Regions from separate parts of the Homo sapiens genome. Here region 1 is linked to region 2. Evidence: promoter capture Hi-C in 16 types of primary human blood cells and fetal thymus (Javierre and others, 2016). All regions are on one chromosome and are shown on one strand. The core of a region is centred on a gene start or on the middle of the fragment in contact, and the rest is flanking DNA. Distances in the headings are between cores, read along the strand shown.

Region 1 (6,724 bases), core at 1,431-3,930, 1.9 Mb after region 2:
ATCCGCTATGGAGAATTAAAGGAGCCGGTTGCAATTTCAGTGCCTCTGAGCTTCTCTTTTTTACTGCTGGTTACCGGTAATGGTTTTTGACTGGGAAGACCGAGCATTGTCTTTGCCTTCCTGCTTTTTATTGTTAATTCTTGCAATCGAGTTTGTAATTAAATGATTAATACATCCAAAGCGCTTAGAACTGTGTCTTCCACATAGCAAATACTGTATAAATTATCGTTATTGCTGAAACCAGGGATTCATCAGGAATTTTAACACACACATTCATCTTCCCACTTGTTTAAAACAGGAAGTGAAGGAAGTACCATAGTAAGAAGTCAATAAATAAAGTCTAGGGCTGGGAGTGGTGGGTCATGCCTTTAATCCCAGCACTTTGGGAGGCTGGGGAGGGAGGATCACTTGAGGCCAGGAGTTCAAGACCAACCTGGCCAACATAGCGAGACCCCATCTGTAAATAAGTGAAGTCTAGAATTGAGAACAGAAAGACTACTGGTAGGGATATGCACACCAGGAAAAATGCCCAGAGGGGTTCAAAGATGTTCCTTCTGGAGAATGGGGTAGGGGATAGGACGTGATATGTCAGGGGACTATTATTTTTTATCTGAAGCCCTTCTGTGCTATATATATTTCTATAATGTATAAATGATATATAATAATAAGATTAATATGACATTTAATTATATTTAATATAATCAACTAATACTTAAATAATATGTTATAAATATGTTATTTTAAATAAATGTGTAGTTTAATTATATTATTTATAATTAATATATGATATACTACATGTATTATTTACACGTAAGTGTGTACATATATTACTTTGATAAGAAAAAAAGGGAAGGAAGGAAGAGAAACTGCAGGAAACAGAGTACTATTATTGAAACTGCCTTTGCAAAAACTGTAACTGAGGAAATTATGACAGTGAAAGAGATCAGACCTCACCGACTCCATCTTACATCTAACCTTTAAGGTGTCCTTGTTCATTCCTGGGCGTAGGCCGAACTAACCTTGGGAAGGAATTTAGTTTATAGTTTAACTCTGATACAAAATTGATAATAGCCCTTTCTCCCTCCCGCTGCCCCCCACTAAAAAAAAACAAAAAAACAAAAAAACCTTCTTACCTGGGAACCAGTCGGCCTTTGCAGGACTAACAAATTAGCCACAAGATTACAAGATTAGAAATTACAATTCAGGGGCCATGCAGCCTCCAGCTGCAAGAGTCTGAACCTCCCCAAATTGCTCCCAGGAATAACATCACTGTTTTAAAACCTAAGATCACTGTTTGATATGTTTTGCAGACCCTGCATTCAGATGCACCAGCTTATGATACAGGAGCGGGGCAGGAAAGTGCTGGGCAGAGAAAGGCGGGTCCGTGGCTAGGGCTCCACCCTGGGGCCTGTGCCCATGGACCTAGGTGAGGATAGGCACTCCTGCCTTCCCACCCAAATGTTATATTCACCCCTAGAGGTTGCCATGGGGTCGGAGCCCCACAGCCTGCCCCTCTGCATGCTCCCCCTAGAGGTTGTGAAGCAGTGAGCCACTCCCGCTGTGGCATGCCCTGCAAGGGGGATAGGGGAACTTCCCTCGTTTCACTTACAGCACCCAGACCAGTAATCTGGCCCAGCCAGTTCTGCGATCCCACCCAGGAACAGAAGATAGCAAGAAAAACTCACTTAGAGCCCCCTATGATTCCATATCCAACTTGACCAGTCAACACTCCCCACTTCCCAAGCCCCTACCCACCAAATTATTGTTAAAAATTTCAATCCCCCGAAACTGATTTGAGTAATAAAACTGCAGTCTCACCCACAGCTGGCTCTGCATGAATTACTCTTTCTCCATTGCAATTCCCCTGTCTTGATAAATCAGCTCTGTCTAGGCAGCAGGCAAGGTGAACCCGTTGGGCAGTTACACTGTCTGCTCCCACACTTTCCACTTGAGGTCCTGTGTGATTCCTTTTCTCCACAACTGCCTTGCCTCAAGAAAAAAGTTATTCTACTCTGATTAGTGATCCTTCGCTCTATCACTAGCTAATCTTTTGTCTCCTTCCAACCAACTACCCCCAAACAAGCTTCCATTCTGGCTTTCCTTGTCTGATGAAAGATCCTGAGTCCCAAACCAGGAAGTCACCTTAGATTCACTGCCCTCCATACGTGTCAATGAGACCAGGTCATGATCAGTCTATTTTCTACTACCTGCCTGCTCTTATTCTTACTGCCACTCTTTTTGTTCCAGCTATCATAATCTCTGGCCTAGATATCCACAATAGCCTACTAAGTGATTTTCCCACAGTGGCAGCTCCAAAGGGGTTGGGAGTGAGTGAGTTGATCTTCATTAGTCATCTCATCCCCCAAAACATTTGACGTAATTAATATGTGCTTGCTTTCTAAAGGCAGCTTTCAAATATGTCTTCCAACACCTACTGCCCCCGGGCTTCACCAGCCAAATTGGCCCCTTAAACCACTCTTTTATAAAAATGTACTGTCTCGGCCAGGTGCAGTGGCTTACACCTGTAATCCCAGCACTTTGGGAGGCCAAAGTGGGCGAATCACCTGAGGTCAGGAGTTCGATACCAGCCTGGCCAACATAGTGAAACCTCATCTGTACTAAAACTACAAAAATTAGCCAGGTGTGGTGGCACGCGCCTATAATCCCAGCTACTCGGGAGGCTGAGGCAGGAGAATTGCTTGAACTCAGGAGGCGGAGGTTGCAGTGAGCCAAGATCGCACCACTGCACTCCAACCTGGGCGACAAAGCAAGCAAAAAAAAAATACTGTCTCCCTGTTGCTGCTGGTATCCTTTTCCCCCTCCTTCAAACCATCCATCCTCTCTAAAAGCTGCTCAAGTGATCCTTTATTTTAATTAATTAATTAACTAGTTTTTGTTGAGACTGGGTCTCACTTTGTTGCCAGACTCAAACTCCTGGCCTCAAGGGATCTGCCCACCTTGGCCTCCCAAGGTGCTGGGATTACAGGTGCGATCAAATTTCTTTTTATCGTCGTTGTAGTTGTTGTTGTTCTTGTTGTTTTTGAGACAGGGTTTTGCTCTCTGACCCAAGCTGGAGTACAGTGGCACAATCATGGCTCACTGCAACCTCAACTTGAGTAATCTTTTAAACCACAAATCGGAGGAGACTACTTCTCTACTTTAAAATCCTCCCATAACTTAAGGAAAAAGTGTGTCAATACAAGGACCTTCAAGATCTGGCCTATAGCAACTCACGAGCTATATTTCTCTACCCACATTCACTACCTCACAAGCTTCATAAGGAACTGCTGATAGTTGCCTCAAAGTGCCAAGAGGCAAGAAGTAAGAAGAGGAAGAAACAGATAAAGAAGGGGAGGGGAGGGATGAAGAAGAAAAGGGGGAGAAGTGGGGAGATGGGAAAGAGGGAAGGAATAGAGGGGTAAGGAGAAGAGGAAAAAGGAGGAAGAGGGGTAGAAGGAAGGGAATGGAAGAAAGGTAGTGGAAAAGGATTGAGAAACTAAATCAAATAAGCATAGATTCCAAATAATGGTGAATAGGGCCAATGTGCAGTGCATTCCTATTGTAAATCAAAAATAAAATACCAAGGTTCCTCAACCATTTGAATGTGCTTTCTCCTCGGCCAGGGCACTCTTTAAAAATGTATCCTGAGTGACTTTCTGGCCATGACAGGAAGTAGGGGTCAAACATGCCTCATTATATTTCTCCAGCTTTAACATCAACACAGACCTTTAAATCTGATAAGAAGCATTTACATTCTATTCTTTCTGAACCTGCAGGCTTCCTGCATGATTAAACTTTAGTCTCCACAACCTCTTATCTTAACCCAAACATTCCTTTCTATTGATCCTAGGTCTTTAAACTCAACCAATTGTCAACCAGAAATTTTTTCAATCTACCTATAAGCTGGAAGCCCCCCTCCCACCCCCACTCCGAGTTGTCCCACCTTTCTGGGCCAAACCCATATATTTCTTACATGTATTTGACTGAAGTCCCTTGTCTCCCTAAAATGTATAAAACCAAGCTGCACCGCAGCCACCTTGGGCACTTGTTTTCAGGATCTCCTGAGGACTGTATCACAGGCCATGGTCACTCCTATTTGGCTCAGAATAAATCTCATCAAATGTTTTCCAGAGTTTGACTCTTTGTTGACACTATATAGTCCAGCAGTTCAGATTCTGGTTTCTACCCAGGTACCTTTGGCTGCTTATTTTTCACATTTTTATTCTTAAAAAAAAAAAAACCCTTACATACATAGGAAGCGGAGGTCACTTTTTATTTTTGTTGAATTAATTTTTAAACATTTAATTATAGGTTCTTTTCAGAAAGTGTGAACTAAGCTCTATTACTCACACATTCATTCAACAAATGTTTATTGAGCAGCCTTTCGGTGCCAGGAACTGTGTTGGACAGCAGGGATACAAACATCACTCTATTTCAGGTTCCACTGCCTGTCAGATGCTTCTGTCTTAACACCTCAGCTCCACTATACTCACACAAACATCAGCATTCCCTTTGTCTAGATCCCAACACATATATTTTTTTAACCATCCATCTCAGCAAGAAAAAGTAATACAGGCCCCCAACAAATCCTTTAATAAGTTTCATTTTATGCCCTAAATTCAATCTAGTTACCTGTATCTGCAAACATACTCCTGAGTCTCCAATACTCAAACTGTCACTCATAAGTTGCCTGCCCTTCTCCTCCTCCACCTTTCCCTTCTTCCTCTTTTTCCATAGCTCACTGCTACTTCCCAGAGCTCCTTAAGTTTACTCCTACATACTGCTAGCAGCTCTTTTCTCCCCATTCCCACATCATGGCTTAAAATATCACAAAATGTTCTATTTAACAAGATTTAACGACTTGATTGATGAAAACTTAATGTGGGGACTTTCAGTTTCCAATCCTACATATAAGGAGCTTAAAAGTCACCACTCCATGTTAACAATAAGTAAAAAACTGAACAAACTGAAAAATCAACAATTAGTCTTAATTCCTTTAGAGAAGTGAGGCCACAGGACACACAGCTGCTGCCAGAATTGGGGAGAGAGGCAAATACAGATAATGACAAGTTTCCAGACCAAAATTCCATGAGCAGAAGCCTCCATGGGAGCCATTACCTAGGTAGAAAAACCTGAACTGTCAGAGGTATTTGAACCAGAGCAACTCCATCTTTAGTAGGGGCTGGGTAGAATAAGGCTGAGACCTGCTGGGCTGCATTCCCAGACAATTAAGGCATTCTAAGTTACAGGATGAGATACAAGGTCAGCACAAGATACAGGTCATAAAGACCTTGCTGATAAAACAGGTGGCATTAAAGAAGCCGGTTAAAACTCACCAAAACAAAGATGGTGACGAGAGTGACCTCTGGTTGCCCTCACTGCTACACCAACCAGCACCATGACAGTTTACAAATGGCATGGCAATGTCAGGAAGTTACTCTATAAGGTCTAAACAGGGGATGCATGAATAATCCACCCCTTGTTTAGCATATCATCAAGAAATAACCATAAAAATGGGCAACCAGTGCCCCTTGGGACTGCTCTGTCTATGGAGTAGCCGTTCTTTTATTACTTTACTTTCCTAATATCTTGCTTTCACTTTATGGACTTGTCCTGAATTTTTTCTTACAACCACCAAAGGGACTATACTGCAGAAACACCTAACCCAAAGACTAACTTTGGGTAAGTGGTGGGGTCTAGTAACATCTTTTTGACAAACCTCGAAGGGACAATACTGAAGAAACAACCCGACCAAAAGGAAATAAACTGCAGCACTGATTGTCCCATTTTGGGTAAGTGGTGGGGTACCCAGGTAAAGGACGCGATTGGGTTAGAGGCCCAATTTAGAGGAGTTAAAGTCTCTCATAAGACAGAGTGGGTTAGAGGCCCCTCTTAATAAAAGGCAAGGACACTTGACCAACCTTGGGTTAGAGGCCCAACTTAGGAAAATTAGGTTCCCTTCTAAGACTTAGGGGGTTAGAGGCTCCTCTCAGTAAATTCCCTTTTGGCTAAGAATGAGTTTGGCACTACAGGATGTTAACTGCTATTATCTTTGGAATAATCTGCCTTGCACCCTTTGCTGTGGGTGACAGGATTAGGCATGTACAGGATAGTGGGATATGGGGGGCTTTTTTCTCCCCAAAAACGAGAAAGTTGAGAGCTGATGGGACTGCTGGAAAATATGCCTTCACAACTGAAAAGCGCCCATCTGAACTTTTGATTCAGTGTGGCTGCAGGGGGTGGGTCTTTTGCTTTACCTCCCTGAGTTCTTCACCTTCCCCACCCTGCCACAGGCAATGCTTTTCTTTCTCTCCCTTCTCTTTCCTATCTTTTCTATTACTCAGGGTGACCATCTTGCCCAGAGACCACAAGTTGAAACTCCTGGTCAGAGGTTGGATTAATGATAATGGGGCCCAACCAGGGGCAAGTTTGGGCCTTGCCAGTTTGATATTGCACAGTGGCTAATGTCTATGTTTTGTCATATGTATTTTGCTCTGGCCAGAACAGAAAATGATAATTTTCCTTAGTGTTGCAGCTTGGCCCCCAGGGCTATGGTGCAGGAAGCCGGGTCACTAGGTTGAATCAGGGAAAGGAAACCCAGAAGCCTGGCATGCTGGCAAAAGAGCAAGAATTTCTTATGAGTCAGACTTCTGGTCTCTCTCTCTCTCCCCCCGCTCCCCCGTGCAAACCAGTTGAAAGAATGGTAAAAATAACTGTTTATTTC
Region 2 (7,175 bases), core at 4,416-6,915:
TGTTGAAAGAGAAATCATTTGAACAAATTTGTTCAGTGAAACTTTGTGAGCCCATGGACAAATAAAAGCTGTTCCCTTTGAGAACGTAAAATTTTCCTTTGAAAATTCCAGGAGTAAGTAGGAAAAGACATAGTTTATAATTTTTTATTGGGAGAAAGTTGGTTTAAAGAATTTAAAAAATGAAGTCACAGCATTAAATTATCTTTATGTTTATAAATTTATTTAATTTCCAAGACTTATGTGTTCATCTCAATCCTTGACATACTCATCTGCCAGACACAAAAAATAGTGGTCTATTTAAGAGGCCTTAATGAATGACAACATTTTTGAAATATGCTATATGAGTACAAATATTTCCAGAGCAAAGAGGGAAAACTGTTGATTGGGTAGACAATCAAATTCCAAGCATTTATCTGATTTACAGAAGTACATCTACTTTTTGTTTTTCACTAAATGAATACAACCACTTTTAATATATATGTGGGTGTGGCTGTGTGCGTATTTCAAAACACACACGCACACACAATAAAGAAACATTTCATAGTGGCAAAATTTTAGTGCACTGCCAAAGTGCTACAATAACTGTCATCCACAGACATCCACATGCAAACACTACTGGACTAGTACACTAGAGCAAATAAGAGAGTATTTAGCAAAACTCTCTGGCAAAAACTTTTAAAACGGAAGTAATGAAACAGAAATCCACTTCTAATTTGAAGGCTTTAGAAAATAATCTTCATTTTAATCACATATACACATAGTATTATCTAAGCTCAGAAAATAACTTCTTCCTGTATGCACAGAACTTCAATGTACACTCAGTAAATGTTAGCATTTGAAGAAAATGTGCCATGAGGAGAATGTCTGAGGGATAATGGCAGGAAAAAGATATATCCATTATAAAAGAGGACAGAAAGGCATAGCAAGGATGGGGATGTGCAGGAAAGGGAGGGGAGAGGGAAGAAAGTAAACTGACCATAAAAGAAACCAATTCAAATGGAAAACAGCGACTAACCTTGACACAGGAATGAATCATGAAGGCTGGATGGGTAGACTGGGAGGGGTGAAAAGAATGTATATTCTTTGTTTTAAGCTATATATAAAATTGTCAGATTTAGCCAAAGCCTAGTTGGAATGGGAGTTGGCTAAATTACATGAAATGTAACACAGACATTGCCAAAACTACTTCACAGGGTTGTTCTGAACAACGAGACACAAATTGTGAAGATGTTCCCCAAATTGCAAAATGCTACACTAATGTAAGACAGATAGTTTACACAATATTCCAGTTCAATCTTTCCTTTCAACTCTGGGAAATTACAAGTGCAAACAATGAGATCTACAGAGCACAGAAAGAAAAAAACCTCCACTGCTCCATTATCAGATTTTCAGGGAACAGCAGGCTTCACAGTCACAGAGAAGCCTGACTTTCAAAACAGAGCAAAGATGGTGACAAACTGATCGAATGGAGAGATACGCTCTTATGCATGTGGGCAATGTCCCCACTCCTGGTATTACCCACAGCAATTCTTAGAGGGAAAATTATTCAGTAGAGGGAAAATTATTCAGTAGAGGGAAGAGGGAGTAAACAGATTCCCTTGCCTACTTCACCCTAAACTTCATAAACCTCTTTTATCTGCACATGAATAAGATTAAACTACTCCAATTATTGTCTTATAAAAGGAAGGACTGAGAGGATAAAAATGGTACAAATTCACCAACATATGCCAAAACACAGAGTATCTTTCCTTAACATAAGAAACAGGAAGAGAAGAAAATTTAACAGTGTGTCAGGTATGTGTGTGCATTGTTATAATCAGTTAAAAGCTAGAAAACTGAAGCTTAATAACTAATTTATTCAAGGCCACTTATCCAACACCACAGAGCCAAAATTTAGCCCTGGGTCTGTTTCATGTCAAAGTCCTGGCTGGCAATTTCCACAAAACTGCCTTCCATCATCAAAAGAAGTTAGGAAGATAAACAGTGAGAACAGCCAACACATTTTTTTGCTATCTATTTTTTCTTGTTAGTTCTATGACTATTTAAGAAAATATTTTGGCATTGAATAATATTTCTATTACATAGCATTTCCTCCTTTGCTAATGCTTAGTAACTCTACAAAGATGACTCATCATATCAGAAGCATCATGAATTAATGCATTTATCTGCAGCAGCTGCTAATACCACAAAAAGAGAGAAAACCACAGATTATGCGCCACCTACTAAATGAACACAACATAACCTATGAAACATTCATGCCAAAAGCCATGTTTCAATCTCATCAAGTCTCTAGACATAACTAGCAAATTAAAGAAACAGAGGATAGAGGAAAGCAAACATTACCATAGGGATGCAATTAGCAAAACTTAAATTGTGGCAAATGCTACATGTGAAACAACCTCATTTCATAAACAAAATCGCAAGGAAAAAAAGAAAGATGAAAGGGAAACATACGGATTAAGAAGACACTTAGGAGATTTACGGGATTCTACTAATTAAAAATAATAAAACAAGTAGCATTTATGAGGCAATTGGAAGTTTGAACCCTCACTGGATATTTACTGATATTAAAGAATTACTGTAAATATCACTTGCGATAATGGAATTATCATTTTTTTCCATATCATCCCATAGCTTTCAGAGATATATAAAGAATATTTATGGATAAAATGATCAGATGTCTGCTATTTGTTACAAAATAATACTAGAACATGGGGAGTGAGTGAGGCTAAGTTAAAAAAGATTGTTCATGGATTCATAATTGCTGAAATTGAGTGAAAAGTACATGGATGTTCATCATAGTATGATGTAACATTATGTATGTTTGCCAAAAAAAGAACATGTCAGGGCTGGGGGGGCAGTTAAAAAAAAACGCATGCCACATCACTGAAAAACGTCCTCATATTTTTCAAGGAAAGAAATGTATTATCAAGGAATCACAGAGCAGAAAGACCTTAAAAGCAATCTATTCAAACCACCTCAATTTATAAATAAGGAAATTAAGGCTCAGATAGGTTAACTGACTTGCTCAGGGTCACACAACTTGTCAGTTCCAAACTCAAGATCAGAATTTAAATCTCCAAACTTGTAGTCCAGGGCTGTGCTCTTTTTGCAAACCAAAAAGAAATGACTGCACTTAAATATTTAGTCCAGAATATCCTCAAAATTGACTGTAATAAAAGTAAGCCACATGATGAGGAATGAATAGAGTTGGTTCATACCAAAAATGAGCTGCCAGTCACAGTGATAAGATCTGTTTCTTTCTGAGAACCATGGTTTCCTGCTGCATTGGGGAATCCAAACTGGGTTTCTCCCTCCTGTCCAAAGAAGTCAGAGTCAGGATGTACGTTCCACTCCGCTTTGGTTGGTGTCAGTAGTTCTGAGACACTGTTTTCACAAAGGGTGCTCGAAGGAGTCAGAGCATCTGTGTCCACTGTTAGCTTACTGCTGGGTGTCAAAGCCTGAGGCTCTGGACTGGAGTTTTTCATGGCCAAAGAGTCCAGAGATCCCAATGGCCCCACACTTACACTTGAGACCTCATCCATATTTAAGGAGCTCTGCTGAAAACCAGTGGCCGCCGTTCCAAAAAAGAGAGAGGTATCCAGACTTTGAGGAGGGTCGCTGGTGGCCATCAAGGACGGAGGGTCCACAGCCTGCCCTACGGAATTATTATTATTAGCAGGGAGGTGCCCTGCCAGAGTCGAGCTCACAGAAGCCACATCAATAGTCAAGATTCCAGAGTTCACCAATGCTGTGTCCAGCAATGCAGCAGAAGTACTGTCAGGTACATCAGAGAAGAGAGACACTATCTCTGCATCACTGAGATCATTCTGTCTCTGGCTGGTAAGTTCACTGCTGGGTGTGAGAGAATTTGCTGCTTCTAGCTGAGCTAAGAGATCCTGGCCCACCTTATGCCTTTTAACCATGTGCGTCTTCATGCTGTGCTTGGATGTGAAGAGTTTATTACAAGAGGAGATCGGGCAACGGCTTTTCCAAGTGTCCACATCCTGCAGGTGTTTCTTGGAGTGAATGTAGAGGCTACTGCGAGCAGAGAACCTGGCACAGCAGCCTGCCACAGGACACACGAAAGGCTTTGTGCCCAGGTGGGTTATGCTGTGGCCTTTCAGATGTTCCGCCCTCGTGAAAGATTTCCCACAGCCTTCCACAGGGCACATGAACCTCCGGTCATCGTCGTGCTTTCTTTTGTGCCTTAAGAGTTTGGACATGCTAGTGAAGTTCCAGCCACAGCCATCAAAGTCACAAAGGAAAGGTCTCTCGCCGGTGTGACTCCGCAGGTGAATTTTCAGCCTACAAGCCTTGTCATATTGTTTGCTGCAGCCAGGAAAAGAGCAGGAAAACAGTTCCTGTTCCCTGAAATGGGCGCGGTTATGGGAAAACAGAGCACTCACTGTGATAAATGTCTTCTTGCAGCCAGAAAACGCGCACTGGTAAGGCCTCTCCGGTTCGAAGTGGCTGCGCTGGTGGGCGCTGAGTTTGGCCTGCGTGGGGAAGCTCTCCTCGCACACCTCGCATTTGAATGAGTTCTCCTGCTCATGGCCCTTCATGTGCGCCTTGAGGTTGTACACTGTGGTGAAGCTCTTGCCACAGCCCTCTGCCGGGCAGCCAAAGGGCCGCAGTTTGTCGTGCGACTGCAGGTGCCTCTTGAGCTTGTAAGAGGTGGTGAAGGTCCAGCCGCAGCCACCCAGGGGGCATTTGAAGGGCCTCTGGCCCTGGCTGCTGCTGTGCGTCAGCAGGTGCACCTTCAGCTGGTGCTTCTTGGCGAAGGTTTGCCCGCACTGCGCCTCGGGGCACAAGTACAGCACCACGCCTGGGCCGGAGCCCAGCGGTCCGCGGGGGCCCAGGGCGGCGGCCGGGCCCTCCGCCTCCTCCTCAGGCGCCGGAGCTGGCGCGGGTTCGGCCGGCTCAGCTAGCAGGAGGTCTGGCGGCAGCTCTGGGCAGTCACCCGGGTGCGCGGCATGCGGGAACCCAGCTTGCGGGGCGATCAGACACCCGGGCTGCTGGGCAGGAGCGGCCCCTGGCTCCCAGGCGTGTGGTGGGGGCGTGGCCAGGGTGAGGACGCCGTTCTCAAAGCGCAACAGCAGGTCCTGGTTGTGGATAGTGACTGTGCCCGCGAAGGCCGCGGCGGGGCCGGGGGCGGAGATCGGGGCCGGAGTGGGAACCGCGGACAGGCAGCGGGGGCCTAGCGCAGTGGGCCCCGCGGGATTCGCGCCGCTCTCGCCCCCCTGGAGCCCCGGGCCCTCCTCGGCCTCCTCCCTCAACACAGGCCCTGCGGCCTGACCGGAGCCCGCGGTCTCCACGTCGCCACCCACCGGGTCAAGCAGCACCAGGAAGAAGTCGTCGCCGCCGCCGCCGCCGCCGCCGCTAGGTTGATCGGTCCTCGGCGCCAACAGGCTTGGGCCAGGGCCCCGTGATGCCGTGCTGGCCTCCTCGCGCCGCCGCCCGGGCCCGCCATCTTGGGGGCCCCGGAGCAGCAGGAGGCGGCGCGTGGGGACCTGGCCAGCCGGCGAGTCAGGGCCTCGGTGGACTCGGCCGCCACCCGCGGGGATACCGCCGCCGCCGCCGCCCTGTAGTGTCCCGCGAGCCGGGAGCAGCTTCGGGATTTCCATCTCTGCGTCCGAGAGGCTCGGCTGGAACCAGAGCCGAGGAGGAGGCGCGATCCCGCCCCCTGCCGCGGGCCTGAACACGTTCCTGAAAGGGGAAAAAAAAATGTGCAATGCGCAGAAACTGGCCCTATCAGATATTAAAACGTATTTAACGCCACAGTGATTTAAATATTCTGGTACTGGGTCTCTGGAACAGAATAGAAAGCCCAGAGGTAGAGCCTGGTATGCATAAATACGTTCTACAGTTAATATAAGTAAGTAATTAAGGGGGTCTTCTGAGGTAATGGGGAAATGACGACAGCTTGTTCAGTAATGCTGTGGAACACCTAGGTATCTATCCGCTGGAAGCAATTTTAATCCATGACTCATTGTATATACCCAAATAAACACACCCCAGCCCCTCCCAGTGTTAGATATGTTGCTTCGTACTTTCTGTGTGTTAAAATTTGCTGGCTGGCTGGCTGGCTGGACTGATGGATGAAAGACAATTCCTGAGAGAAAAAACTGTCTCTGTGTCAGCATTAAACCACCATAGCGCTGGCAGTTCTGCTGAAAATGTCCTTCCCCTTCCCACCTCCCCGCGGGACAACTTCCATATTCACAATTATCTTGAGCAAAGTCTTCGGTACAATTTGCCGCATAGTTCAAATTTTGTCTTGCTGATACAGACATTAGAATGAGTGAGAGATGCGGCCAAAACAGGTTAGCACTCTTCAGCCTAGAAATTCAAAGTCTGGAGGATGAAACAATTTACACTGAAATCTGGAAAAAACCCAACCTTCTCCTGGCTTCTCCCTATACAGTGCACAACCTAAACCAACTTTTGCCCTTCCACCATCGGTTGTACTGTGATAAATTTCATGTCTGCTCTCACAGCACAATGAGGGCATTCATTCCTCAGTTTACTCTGCCTTCTCCAGCACGTGGAGGTCTCTGGGCAGGAGTTTCAGTTAAATGTGTTTAGGTTAAATCCTGAGTCACTGCAATGGATTCTGCCAAGTAAAAGGCACAGACGATCTTGTCCAATCAACCTGGTGTACCTGTTCACATTTAAGTGTGGTGGCCCAGGCTTGCTGGGCCTGTGGTGCCTAATGATCTTATTAATGATGATGACAATCCTTCATTTTGTCCGTTACGACTGAGTTGGGAATTGACACAAATATAGGGTGAAATATCTGAGATAAGAAAGCTTAGAGTAATGACTAGATTGGTGGTGGTGGGGGAGCGGGGTGTAACCTGTTGTTTAAATACTCCCAGCTCTCTCGCCCTCTTTTAATGACAGTGGACACTTGGTCTCTTGAAAATCAAGCTATTCATCCATAACTATTTGAACCTCATCAAAATGTCTACTCCACATACTTTTCTTTCTATTACTTTTTCTGGTGGAAGCATTTTTCAAATCTGAGGTATAGAAGAGTGCATAAAACATATTTGTATCGTTTAGATTATTTTACAAAAGCAGACACCTGTGTAACCAGGACCAAGGTCAAGCAATAGACCACTGCCAGCCTTCCAGAATACAGCCGCTGTACTCCTCCCAATCACAACCCA

Evidence for each region. The method cuts DNA at HindIII sites, captures the fragments that hold promoters and counts their contacts. A CHiCAGO score of 5 or more calls a contact.
Region 1: a fragment that was not itself captured here is called in contact with the fragment with the promoter of ZXDB in region 2 in 1 of 17 cell types (total B cells); the score reaches 7.0 in total B cells.

Annotation. Positions count from the first base shown.
Region 1 is chrX:55,710,825-55,717,548 of GRCh38, reverse strand. No RefSeq gene overlaps it. Among named protein-coding and RNA genes, the nearest start is that of RRAGB, 3.6 kb to the left of the region's middle. The HindIII fragment of the contact is 1,189 bases long and covers 2,086-3,274 here.
Region 2 is chrX:57,590,501-57,597,675 of GRCh38, reverse strand. ZXDB (zinc finger X-linked duplicated B) reads right to left here and starts at 5,665. Exons shown (of 1, transcript NM_007157.4): 1 at 199-5,665. The coding sequence starts at 5,627. The coding sequence ends at 3,216. RefSeq lists silencers at 4,788-4,977, 5,038-5,327. The HindIII fragment of the contact is 4,972 bases long and covers 1,844-6,815 here.